Linked DNA regions of Homo sapiens: region 1 is linked to region 2. The links are contacts of gene promoters, found by promoter capture Hi-C in human tissues and cell types (Jung and others, 2019). All regions are on one chromosome and are shown on one strand. Each heading gives the region's core, a stretch centred on a gene start or on the middle of the fragment in contact. The rest is flanking DNA. Distances are from core to core; before and after follow the strand shown.

The links. Contacts are between HindIII fragments. The study calls those that stand out against the background at their distance.
Region 1: a contact is called between a fragment that was not itself captured here and the fragment with the promoter of MAPKAP1 in region 2, in 1 of the 25 tissues and cell types used here (IMR-90 fibroblasts).

The regions. Positions count from the first base shown.
Region 1 is chr9:126,161,267-126,167,945 of GRCh38, forward strand. No RefSeq gene overlaps it. Among named protein-coding and RNA genes, the nearest start is that of MVB12B, 160 kb to the right of the region's middle. RefSeq lists an enhancer at 1,204-1,705. The HindIII fragment of the contact is 6,764 bases long and covers 2,042-6,679 here.
Region 2 is chr9:125,704,241-125,710,968 of GRCh38, forward strand. It overlaps MAPKAP1 (MAPK associated protein 1), which reads right to left and starts at 2,968. Exons shown (of 12, transcript NM_001006617.3): 1 at 2,731-2,968. RefSeq lists silencers at 2,672-2,901, 3,012-3,181 and enhancers at 2,890-3,184, 3,182-3,341. The HindIII fragment of the contact is 13,511 bases long and covers 1-6,728 here.

The DNA.
Region 1 (6,679 bases), core at 4,174-6,673, 460 kb after region 2:
TCCTCCCAGGCTCAAGTGGTCCTCCCACCTCAGCCTCCCGAGATGTTGGGACTACAGGTGCCTGACACCTTGCCCAGCTAATTTTTGTATTTCTTTTCTTTTCTTTTCTTTTTTTTTTTTTTATAGAGACGGCGATTTGCCATGTTGTCCAGGCTAATTTGGAACTCTTGGGCTCAAGCGATTTGCCCACCTCGGCCTCCCAAAGTGCTGGGATTACAGGCGCGAGTCACCGCGGCCAGCCTGTGCGCAGCATTTTCTTTGCACATCTCACTGCATCCCCATCACAGTCTTATTACTTCCCATTTTATAGATCAAGGTGCTGAGGCTCAGTAATGTGTCCCCTAAACAGTATGTGGTGGAGGTGGGATGGAATCCAGGCCTGTACTTTTGTCTGCCTGACCTCTTATAGGCTGAAAACCTCCTTCTAAGTCCTGGGGTCTTCTCTGAATCCGGGTCATAGAAGCTCCAGTCCTGCATCTTTTCGAGGCAGCATTTCTCAGATCCTGAGCCTCCATGTGTCAGGGGCATGGTCTAGAGCCCCCAGTCTGACCAGGGGGGCACTTCCCAATCTTCAGGGGGTCCCAACCTTGAAAGCAACCAGGAATGCTGGATTCTGATCCTACCACACCCTTGGGAAAAATCTCTCTCTCTTTTTTTTTTTTGTGACGGAGTCTTGCTCTTGTCACCCAGGCTGGAGTGCAGTGGTGCAATCTCGGCTCACTGCAACCTCCACCTCCCAGGTACAAGTTATTTTTGTACCTCAGCCTCCCCGGTAGCTGGGATTACAGGCACGTGCTGCCACGCCCGGCTAATTTTTTGTATTTTTAGTAGAGATGGAATTTCACCATGCTGGTCTTGAACTCCTGAGCTCAGGTGATCTGCCCACCTCGGCCTCCCAAAATGCTGGGATTACAGGTGTGACCCACCGCACCCAGCCAGGAAAATCTCTTCACCTCTCTGGGCCTCACCTTCCAAGTCCACCCAATGGGCTGAGAACTGCTACCTCAGGGCCTCCATCTGGGGAGAGGTGGGTGAGAGGATGGCGTGGGCTTTCCAGGTTTGGACTGTCTGACTGAGGTGGGAGAGATGTGGTTCCTGGGGAGGAGGAGGTCTGGGCTGAGGAGGAGCCTGGGGTGGGTGGAGTCCGCAAGGTCTGGAAGGGCGGGGGAGCCAGAATGTTGACCAGGCACCATTTCTAAGCCAGGGCCTAGGCCCAGACAGGGGCTGTTATCATCCCCGTCACACAGATGTGAGGTGTCATGAAGTAACCACCTCTTTCAGCTGCTTCTCCCCTTTTCCTCCTCACAGAACCATCCCAGGTCTCAGACTGGCCCCAGAGCCCGGGTGTCCCCGCCTGTGGTGGCCCCAGCTTCTGAGCCAGCTGTGTCATAGGGTCCTTCCCAGTCTCGCCCACCACCAGCTGCTTTGGGCCACAGGGAGCACGTGCCTGGGGCTCTGTGTGACCCCTGGCTCTGTTTCCCTCCCAGAGGGGGCTGCTAGGCTCTATCTGTGTGAAGGTCATGCTATGCAGGCTTTGGCTGGTAAGCTCCTGGCTGGAGCGACCCCCCGCCCTGGCTTCAGCCCTCCCTGCCAGGTAAGAGGAACCGGCCCCAGTGATTAGAAGCTGGCGGGGAGCATGGGAGAGGCTCCACTGAAGGGAGGCACAGTGGTCAAGGGCACAGGTTCTGCAGCTGGGGGGTCATCCTGGCTGTACGCTGCAGCTGTGTGACCTCAAGCTCATGACTCCACCTCTGAGCCTCAGCCTCCTCAGCTGTGGAGGGTGCTGGGGAGACCCTCGCCTCCCATGGTTGTTAGCATGAACTGAGGCGATGCATGTGGGTGCTGAGCACGAAGCCTGGTGCATGGTCAACCCTCAGCGAATGCATCTAGCTACCCTCCTCCCTTTCCAGAAGCTGCAGCGCCAAGGGTGGAGTGCTGGGGCCAGGACGGGGAGGGCCAGGGCCAAGGAGATGGGCTCTAGGGACAAGACAGATAGGAGCTGAAGGGGCCCTCAGGCGCGGGGACCCTGAACCCCCCAGGGTGACAGGAGACCAGCGTGGCCCTCACCAGCCAGCATCAGGTTCGTCATTTTCTTCTCCTGTCCTCTCAAGACTGGAGGTTCCCCCAGGCAGAGCCTGGTCTGCTCTGTCTCAGTGCCCCAGCACCCAAAGGAAAATCAATGACTTGCTCAGTCTTGGGTGTTGGCAATGAATGGTGTCACTGTCCTATCTTGGTTGAGGGGGAATCCATTCATCAGCTTGGAGGGTACCACACCCTGGCGCTGAGTGTGTGTGGCTTTAGCTGAGGGGATCAGGGACGCTCTGCAGGGAATTCAGAGCTGGCGTCTGCGTTGGGCAGGGACCCAGCTCTTTTTCCAAGTGGGATGAATTTGAGATCACAATAATAACAACTCCTATCTATTGAGACCTTACTCTGTGCCAGGCACCATAAGTGGAGCCTTGCCCTCATGCCTCCTTCTAGAAACTTCCATATGATTTCCATTTTCAGACAAAGACACCGAGGCTCAGGGAAGGTGAGCAACTCACTTAAGGTCACCAAAGGCAGAGCTGGGACTTGCCCAAGATCAGTCTGGCTCCAGTACTGCGGATATTCCTTCTTTTCAGTGCAGCCCCCTCTCCAAGCTGTTGAATGGAGTCCCCCCCAACCGAGATAGGAGACTGATGCCACTCACTGCCACCACCCAAGACTGAGAAAATCATTTATTTTCCCTGTCTATAAAACGTTTCACAAAGTAACAAAAAGTGTAATGTGCAAGATCTTCAGAATGACCTTTAGAAGAAGTGACCACACCTTAGTGGTTCTTACCCTTGGCTGCCCATGGGCGTCACGTGGGAGTGTTAAAAAGCTCTGAAGCCCCGGCCTCACCCCCAACCAGTGACGTCAGACTCCCTGGGGTGTGTGGCCCAGCATGGTGTGTTTCAAAGCTCTTGAGTGGTCCCTGTGGGCAGCTGGGGCCGGAAACTGAAGCCCAATGTGTCTAAGCTGCATGCGTCTTTTTTTTTTTTTTTTTTTTTTTTGAGACAGAGTCTCACTCTATTGTCCAGACTGGAGTGCAGTGGCACAATCCGGCTCACTGCAACCTCCGCCTCCTGGGTTCAAGCAATTCTCTTGCCTCAGCCTCCTGAGTAGCTGGGACTACAGGCGCCCGCCACCACGCCTGGCTAATTTTTGTATTTTTAGTAGAGATGGGGTTTTACCATGTTGGCCAGACTGGGTTCGAACTCCTGACCTCAGATGATCTGCCTGCCTCAGCCTCCCAAAGTGCTGGGATTGCAGGCGTGAGCCACCGCGCCTGGCCTGTATGTGTCTTTCTTGCGTACCCTGATGGCTTCAATTCTCAGGTTAGCTTAAAGCCATTCTCATCCCAATTTAATTGAAGACCCTTGGTGAGTCCCTTAAACCCTCATGTGGAATCAAAATGTTGTGCTGTGGGGAGATGGCCTGAGGTTCTAGAACTCCCTGGCACTAGACCGTCCTTCAACAGGGCTTTTCCAAGCCCGTTTGCCCCCGGGCCCCTTTATCCCAGCTTTCTTTTGCCATCATTGTAACAGTCATCAACACAGCCCAGCCTGCTAATGAGTAGCCCCATCTGGGCACAGTCAGAGGAGAAAGGGTCTCTGCCCTCCAGGGACCAACGCCTGTCTGGGGAGGCAGCAATCCAGACTCGGATGAAGCCCTGGACCCCTCCTGAACCCCACGGCTGCCGGGGAGGTGGGGTGACTTCATCTCCACACTCTGGATCTTCCCGGGCGGTTCCCTTAGCAACAGGGCCTTGCTTTGACAGCCGCCTTCGCAGACAGTCTGCTTTCCGGGAGGCTCTTTCCACCAACCCCATCCTCTCTTCCAGTGGAAATTTTTGCAGGGGCTTCAAGCAGAGGCTCAAAGCAGGCCCTTCCTGACCTGTGGGGCGTCAGGCTGCCCCTGGACCCTACAGCCTTCCTGGACTGTTCACCAACGTCCCATACACAGGGCCTGCTCGTTCCTCCGGCTTCCCACTTCCTCCTGTTCCTGCAGGTCCTAATGAATTCAGTCTTGCTCTTCTACCCGCCCCCCACCGCTGCCTCCTTGCTTTTTCTACCTCCCGACTTTCTCTTCCCCCGACACACCTGTGCCCCACCTGCCTCTCACCCGCACATGAGCAGTTAAAGCGTCTGCGCTGACATTTAATGTTCTTAATATAGGCCTTGGTGACAGAGGGAAGCGGGCACAGAGTCCCCTGCTGGGCAGGGGGCTTTTCATCCCCTCTGCATGGGCATGGAGACCTTCCCTCCCCCAGTCAGAGGACAGGATGGCTTCAGTGGGGCCCACAGCTGCAGGCATTGCTGGCGACCATGTACTGAGCCCTGTGCAGGGAGCCTCTGGCCCCACAATAACAACTAATAGTATTCCCATTTCACAGGCTAGAGAATGCAGCTTCAGAGAGGTTAGCTAGCTTACTTAAGACCATCAGTTAATAATTGGGGACATCGGTAGTGACAAATATGAAATATTTTTGTCTCTGAGCACCCACCCAGTGGAAAAGCTGGACACCCCATGCCCCCGAGAGGGTCCTCATCAAAACTTGCAAAGGAGGGAGTTTAAGCTCAGCATCCACCTATAACCACAGTGCAGTGTGCTGGGGGAGCCCGGCCCAGGGCACCCAGTTGCCATGTGGTTTGCAAACAGCCAGCTGCTGCCGCCAGCTCTAACCCTGCCTCCGGTGCCCTCTCTTTATTGTCCTTCTGTTGGCTGCTGTCACTGATGTGGTGGGAAGAGGACTCCTCTATCAGCCCCCTAAAACATGGCCTGTGGGCAGCGGTGATGAGTTTGGGGTGAGTTTTCTGGCTGATGAGTTAGAGAACAATGGAACGATTCGTCCTTGGTTCACTCCTCGAAGAACCTCTTTCCACCAACCCATAAACTTAGGGCAGAGGCCAAGCAACTCGGTGTGGAAGGCAAGTGGTCTTGCTTCTTATTCCAGAGCCATAATCTCATTGCTCTGGCTTGAATGAAAATCCCAGGTCACCATCGTTCATCACCATTATTTCTCCCCAAAGGTCCATGGAATGCCATTTCAAATATCTGCTCTGGGCTTGGAGAGACCTGGGAGTCCATAGTGCAGAGGGGAAGCTTGACACCTGGGAGGTGGTGACTCCCTTGAGCGCAAGTCTAGGGGAGAGGGACACTGGGGAGGGATTCTGAGGGACACTGAGATGGGCTGGAAGAGGCCAGAAGAGGAGGCTCGGTGGCAGGGAAGGTGGAGAAAGTCCAAGGACGTGGAGTCAGGAAGGCAGAGGATGTCTCACTGGAGAGGGCTGGGAACTGGGTCAGGAGCTGCCATGTTGGGAAGGTGAGGGCTACGAAGCAGTGACCGCATTTAGTGACAGGTACATCATTGTTGATCTTGTTGGACGTTGTTTCAGTAAAGAATTGGAAAAAGAAGCCAGATTTAAGCAGGTCAAGGAATCCATGGGAGAAAAGAGAACAGAGCAGACAATTCTTTGGGGAATCCTGACTGTGAGGTCCCATACAGACATACAGAGAGGCTGAAGGTGAGGAATTGGTTTTGTTTGCTTGTTTTCGGGGTAGAGAGAGACTCGAGCATGTTTAGATGTTGATGAGAAGTCTCCAGCAGAGAGGGAAGGGATGGCTGGTTGGCCTTGGTCCCCAGAGGTGGAGGCAGCCAGCAGCTGGAATACTGGTACTGATGCAGGATTCATTCTATAGAAGTCCCAGTCTCCTCCACCAACCAAGAGGGAATGAAGTGATGGGGAGTGCTGATGGAGATGAGCCTGCACGTTCAATGGGGAGGGAGCGCTATGGCATCATCCTCTAACAGACAGGGAGAGGATGGTGAGCGGGGGAGGTTTGAGGAGAGCAGGGAAGGTTGGCAAGAATGGAGGCCAGGACAGAGAGCTGACCAGGGGAAGAACTGCTAGGCAACGATGGGAACCGTTAGAGGCTGGGGAACCATGAAGTTATCACGGCATCAACTGTTTAGCCAATCCTTTGTGATGTTCTATATTCCGACTTTTTGTATTAGTCAAATAAATTTGGGAAATATGTTGTATTTCCCATATAACATATTGGTATAATATGTTATACTAATAACAAGATTAGTTAAGCCAACTATGTTGCATCAATATGATGAAATGTTGGATTTCTCAGAGACTTTGATATGCTCATGTATGTTGTAACCTGCAGAATTGGCAGGTCCAATTTTATTTTTGACCACAGTATTTTTTCCTCACAAACCATCTCATGGTCTAGTGTTCTATTCAGTGGTGTGCTCGAGCTGGCTCATAAGAGCAAAGGTATGCATCTGTTTTTAATTTCTTGTCCAGTGACATCGGTGTGGCTTGACATCAGCCATGGTAGCAGTGTTTAGACCACAGAAATGGGCAAGTGCTACAAATCAGGGTTATTTCTCCTGGACAGCTGGTTGTTAAACACTTACCATTGCACTTCAGATATCTTGCACTGGTCAATGCAAAAGGAAAGAAACACAATAAGTGGTAAAACTATAAAAAAGAAAGGCTCAAAATTATTTTTCACATATTTTATGATTATTTACCTAGAAAATTCAAAAGATCAACTAGGGACTATTACAATTAATCAGAGAATTCAGTAAGATGCTGACTTAAAAGATTTATTCAAAAATCGATGCCTTTCCTATGTA
Region 2 (6,728 bases), core at 1,718-4,217:
AAACTCAAGGAAGTTATTCAAGGTCTCTGTGCCCCAGTTTCCTCATCTGTAAAATCAGGATGCTAATAACACCTTCTCACACGAGAAAAAAATGAGATAAAGCATTTAACATCACACCAGCAGAGTAAGTACTCATTACCTACCATCATCAGTGTTTCCTTCTCAGTGTTCTATGGTACCTCCTGGGGACTTCTACCTTAGAACCCACAGTACTTTATTATGGTTCACCTGCACACACACAGACATCTCCTCTACTAGAATGTCAATAACCTCAGGATAGGGACCCAATTTTACTTCTTTTTGTATCCCCAAGGTCTAACATTTTGCTTGGCACTGCTGAAATGAATCGTAGATCCTCGAAGTATTTATTAACTGGAAAAGTTATTAGCAGAAACTGGAATTTACCTCCCTTGCCTGGTACTCAAGCCCTCACTGACTCTGACCCCTACCGCCCCTCCAACTTTACGTCCTTGTACCCTGCTAAAAGAAGCAATGACTTGCATGACTCAGGCTGTAAACTCACTCACCAGTCTAAAACCATGCCTCAAGCATTATACCTTTGTATCTTATAGCTATTTATTTCGGGGGACTTTACCACGTACCAGGCCCTTTATCCCCATTAGTTCAATAAATATTCACAACACTCCATGTGGTCAATATTATTCCCTAACCCAACCCCTAGTTGAAGAAAGTGATGCTTGGAGTTATGTGTCGAAGGTCACATATCCTGTAAGAACAGGGACCAGGAATTGAATCCAGAGTCCATGCCTATTTTCTATAGACTGTCTTCTCTGCTCATATTCAAAGCTGAGCTAACTAACCTACCTGCCATCTCCTTGCCTTGGAAGAGCACAGTCTTTACATTTAAAAGATTTCTGTACCATTCATTTTAACATTCATATGTTTTGTCCTATATAACTTTTGGTTTCAATATGTACTTGCATAAAAAGAGGGAGATGATGTGAGAAAAAGGCAAGACATGTAATGGAAAAAGCACAGATTTAGGCATCAGACAGACCTGGGTTTGAATCCTGGCTCTGTCTCCTACCAGCTGTGTAATTTATTATGGGTCTTCCTAATCTGTAAATTGAGGTTAAAATGATTAAACAATAGAAACCCCTATATAATACCCAAATACTCAAAGTTTAGTTTACCTCAAATTATGAAGCATTACCTGGCCACATCCCATCCCTCAAAGGTGAATAACCCATTCCCCTCCCGCACCTACCACTGTCACAAGAACTCTCACACAATGTACTTATCACGGTGTTAGAATTATTCATTTCCCTTATCTCTCTTTCACTAAATTGAGCTCCCTGGCAGCAAAGACTGAATCTTATATTTATCTCTAATTGCCTAGCATGGTACCTGGCATATATATACATATCCATATTCAGTAAACATTTGCTAAGTTAAATAATTGTAGATAAAAATGAGCGCTTATAGAATTCTAGAGGAAAAATCATTTCCAGGTGGGGTTGTCCTGAATTGGTTGGGTGAGGCCAACTCAGCTGAGCCGTGGGAAGCGTCTCAATAGACTGAAAGAGAAAAGGGGAAACCTAGGCAAGGTAGGGAGAATGTTCTACAAAAATCAATGGAATAGGAAAGAACAAAAATGATTAGAGATCCTACTTATTCAGAGTAATGGATCAGGATGGGGTAATTAAAGAAGGAGACCTTTTCAAGCATAACTGGAAAGGTAACCAGGAGCCAGATTAGGAGATGTAAGGGGGTGTAAGTGCAGTCTGGGACACACAGTAGTTGAAGGTAGGCATGAGCACACAGATGAATGGGAAAGGGCTACCAGCATGCCCCAAATCCCGCAGGTGTGTAAACTGAAAAACATGAAAACAATTATTGCTTCATCAAGAACTCTTTCCGTGTTTACTAGGTACCTTGTGTGGGCTCATAAAATATAAGGAATAAAACCCATATCTAGGCTTCTGCTCAAGTGGGTTTTAACATTACGGATCCACCTCTCCTGCTTGTCAGAGAATGAGAACGCTGCTTTTTTTAAACCAATGGGTCTCCATTTGACTCTTCACACCTGGGAAAGTTTTGAACTTTGCCGATTTGGGTTTATAACAACATGGTGCTTTGTACAGTGCCAGGTACTGTGGTGGGCTTCCAAAGTGACTTTCATTCATTCAAAAGGAAGTTTTAACCAATTTCTGAGTCAATTTGGGGGTCTCTGGTTAAAGTCATAATCTTGTTTACGCTACAATCTCTTTTTCCCAGCCTTAAACAAATCTAAATGACTCCTTGCCACTCCCATAAACAAAGAATGAATCAAAGTTCCAGCAGCACTGTAGCTAGAAAAAAGTCTGTAAGGCTGTTAACCTCTTTAAGGGGGAGGGGGAGAAGGGACGCAAGGAAACAAGGACCACACAGTCAATGCTTGAAAACCTTGATTTTCACATTATGAAGACCAGGGCACCTAGATATTGCCAAGTGCAGGCCCAGAAACTGCCGGAGTCAACTACACCCCCCACCCCCACACTACCAGGTCAGCTGGCTTCTTTTCCCCTAAACCACACACCCGCCTCAGACTCCTGACAGCCTCCAGTTCTGGAAATGGCCAGGAAACGAACGCGCCCGGGCCACCTGAACAAGGGCCCGGCAGGCGGCCCGCCGGGCAGCGCTGAAACTGGAGGGGTGAGAGGGCCGCCAGGTGGGCAAGCTGGTGGGCTGACGGACGGGCGGGGAGCTGGCGGCTGGGGCAACCTTTACCTGAAGCTGCTTCCACACTACGGGCCGGGTCGGCCCCGGGACACGTTCCTGAGGGGAGGGCCCGGCTCCCCCACGCCTCCCGGCCCCTGCCCCGAGCTCTGCACTCTCGGGATCCACGGGGACCGGCGCTCCTCCCGGCCCGCTCAGCTGCCGCTTCCCGGGTTAGCCCTCATGCCCCTGCTGCTCGCCGCCGCCGGCCGGCCGAGCAGCAGCCCTATTACCCCGAGCCGCACACGACCCGGAACCACACCCCGGCGTTCCGGAAGTCCCCGACCGGGAAGGAGCCTCTGGCTGGGGACGTAGTGCGCAAGCCCCAGAGCTGAAAGCAAGGAGCGGTAGCTTCCCGCGGGGCGGGGCCGGGAGGGAGGCCGGGCGCATGCGCGCCGCTTCTCCAGTGCAGGGAAAGGCCTGGGTCGGAGACTGAGTTCTGGCAAGATGCGCCAGTGCCTGGACTTGCCTTGAGCAGGAATCAGTGTTAGGCTTCTCCATCGAATCTTCTTTCTCCCCATTTCCACGGAGAAAAGCCCTTAGTTCGTCCAGAAATGAGTGATGAGGCAGCTCAGCCTCTCTGAGAAAGACCTGGGTTCAAATGCCAGCTCTTATAACTTGCTGTGTGTCCTAGGATGTGACACTTCTCTCTGAGCCTCGGGTTTTCCCATCCAGGGCAATAGTTTCAACTTTAGAGTATATTGCTGTGGGAATCGAATGGGATGATGCTTGAAAAACACCCAGCATAGTGCCTGACACATAGTAAACATGCAGTCAATGTTAGTTATTTCTCTTATTATAATATCTGTAATATGGAGGTGACAATAATCTTCCTCAAGCCCTGCTGGGAGGTTTCCAGGAGATGTAGGAGGACTGGCACAGGGCAGAAGTTCAGTGTGTCTCATGCTGCTCCCTTCCTCTCTCACGGAGGAAATCAGTAGAGAAAGCCACGATGAAGGGGGAAAAAGGATTCAGGGAGTGCAGTGAGAGTGGTTCTCCCACCTGAAAGATGCTTGGGGAAGTCTCTCAAAAACGCACCTTAGCAAAAGAAAAAACTCAAGGTTGAATTTCAGCCCTGAGGGACCCCTGCCCAATTTTAAACTTATTAATAAATATGCCATGGGGCCAGGCACGGTGGCTCACACCTGTAATCCCAGCACTTTGGGAGGCCGAGGAGGGCAGATCACTTGAGATCAGGAGTTCGAGACCAGCCTGGCCAACATGGTGAAACCCTGTCTCTACTAAAAATACAAAAATTAGTCTGGCGTGGTGGTGTGCACCTGTAGTCCCAGCTACTCAGGAGACTGAGGCAGGAGAATGGCTTGAACCCGGGAGGCAGAGGTTGCAGTGACCCAAGATCAGGCCACTGCACTCCAGCCTGGGTGACAGAGACTCTGTCTCAAAACAAAAAAACAAAAAACACGGTGGGTCTACCCATGTATTTCAAATATGGTCATCCATCACTTAATGATGAGGACACAAGAAATGCATCGTTAGCTGATTTTGTGGTTGTGTAAACATCATAGACTGTACTTACACAATGTCAGAGCCTACTACACACCTAGGCTGTTTGGTATTAGCCTATTGCTTCTAGGCTGCACACCTGTACAGCATGTTACTGTACCATATACTGTAGGCAATTCTAACACAATGGTATTTGTGTATCTAAACATCTCTAAATGCAGAAAAGGTACAATTAAAAGACCATGTTATAATCTTAGGGGACCACCATCATATGCACTCTGTCATTGACCAAAACATCCTCATTCCACGCATGACCATATGTGATTGATCTCTTACTACATCCCATTACTTTATGTAATTGGTATCTTACCACATATCTATACTGGGGGAATAGTGCACCTCAGCACCCAGACACACTCTTGCACACACACCACCACAGTTCCATCAGGGACCTGTCAGAGGCACTCTAACAAAGCAGCAGGTGTGAACAAGTTTGGATATTTGATTTTCTGAGGTCACCAGGTTATCTGTTCCTTCCTAAATCTTACTCTCCATTTTCCTCTCTCTCTCTCTCGAGTTCCAATCTGAAGCACAGCTGCCTGACTGTCTCCTAGACACATAAAACTCGACCTATCTAAAACTGCTAAGCAGTTATAGATTCTAAAGAGTAAATATTTCCTAGCACTTTGAGAGACCAAGGCAGGAAGATCATCTGAGCCCAGGAGTTCAAGACCAGCCTAGGCAACATGGTGAGACCCCATCACTACCTTAAAAAATTTATCTCTATATAGGCCGGGCACGGTGGCTCATGCCTGTAATCCCAGCACTTTGGGAGGCCAAGGGGTGCGGATCACAAGGTCAGAAGATCAAGACCATCCTGTCTTAACATGGTGAAACCCTGTCTCTACTAAAAAAAAAAAAAAAAAAATACGAAAAATTAGCCAGGCATGTGGCACACACCTGTAGTCCCAGCTACTTGAGAGGCTGAGGCAGGAGAATCGCTTGAACCTGGGAGGTGAAGGTTGCAGTGAGCACACCACTGCAGCCCAGCCTGGACAACAGAGTGAGAGTCTGTCTCAAAAAAATAAAAAATAAAAAAATATATATATACACACACATATACACATATATTTTTTTTAGCCAGGTGTGGTGGTGAATGCCTGTAGTCCTAGCTGCTTGGGAGGCTGAGATGGGATGATTGCTTGAGCCCTGGGAGGTCAAGGCTGCAGTGAGACGTGATCATGCCACTGCACTCCAGCCTGGATGAAAGAGCAATGCCCTGTCTTGAAAAAAAAATTAGAAAAATAAAAAGTGAATACTCACTCTGCCACTTACAAGTTTTGTGACTTCATCTCTCCAAGTTGCTTCTCTAAATATTCTTATCTTTACCTGGAAAATGGGAATGACAGAAGTCCTACATAACCTCATTAGTTTGTTGCAAGGATAGAATGACCTAATACATGTAGCTTACATATAACAGAGCCTGGCATGTGACTATTATTTACTAATGCCTACCAGTATGAGTATACCTCAGTCAGTAAGCAATACTTATTGAGTGCCTATTGAGATTCAGTGGTGAAAAAGCCAGACGGGGACCCTACCCTTAAGAAGCCTTGTAGTCAAGTTCGACTATGGGTTTGAAATACTGTAGTTACTGTGGTAAGTTGGCATGCAGTGATATATGGTAGGATTTCAAGGACAGTATTGAGGGCCCAGTTGAGAATGGAGACTAAATGTATGGTGATACTAATATGATGGCTAGTGTGATTATTCTATAGCTAGTTGGAGCAGTCACGATACACACACCCAAAGAATGAGAAGTTGGATTGATCCAAGGAAGGATTTTGCCAGACAGGTGTGATGGGGTCATATCAGCTTTTAAGAGTGCTTAAAACAATGAGCCATAGAAAGTATGCTGGATAGGGAAGCAAGAGAATTCCAGAAAAACAGGTATCACTGGCCTAAAGGTCTCAAATAGATGTAATGGAAGTCACTGATGAAGGAAAGCAGAAGGATGGAGGTTATTGTCACAGATGGATGTTTCAACAAATAACCTCAGAGGAGGAGCCATGTGAGAGGGGGTCCCAGCTAAAGTGGAATGGGGGGAAAATCACTGAAGATGAGATAGTCAAGGAACTGAGATCCTTGTGAACGTCCATCCCAAGATGGTGGACAGACATGGGGTGAAAAGGAAACCAGACGTGCTCCCCATGGCATCTGCAACTGAGGAACAGCACTGGGGAGGTAGATGAGGAGGAGAGAGGAGAAACTAATTGGATGGCATGAGCCTCCAAGAAGCAGGAGTTGTATTGGTGGAAGTGTCATTAAAGCATACATTGACCTGTCTCCTGACCTGGGGTGTACAGTGGTAGGACCATGAGAGCTAACACACATACAAATTTTTTTTTTTTTTTTGAGATGAAGTCTCGCTCTGTCGCCAGGCTAGAGTGCAGTGGCACGATCTCAGCTCACTGTAACCTCCGCCTCCCAGGTTCAAGCCATTCTCCTGTCCCAGCCTCCCGAATAGCTGGGACTACAGGTGCCCG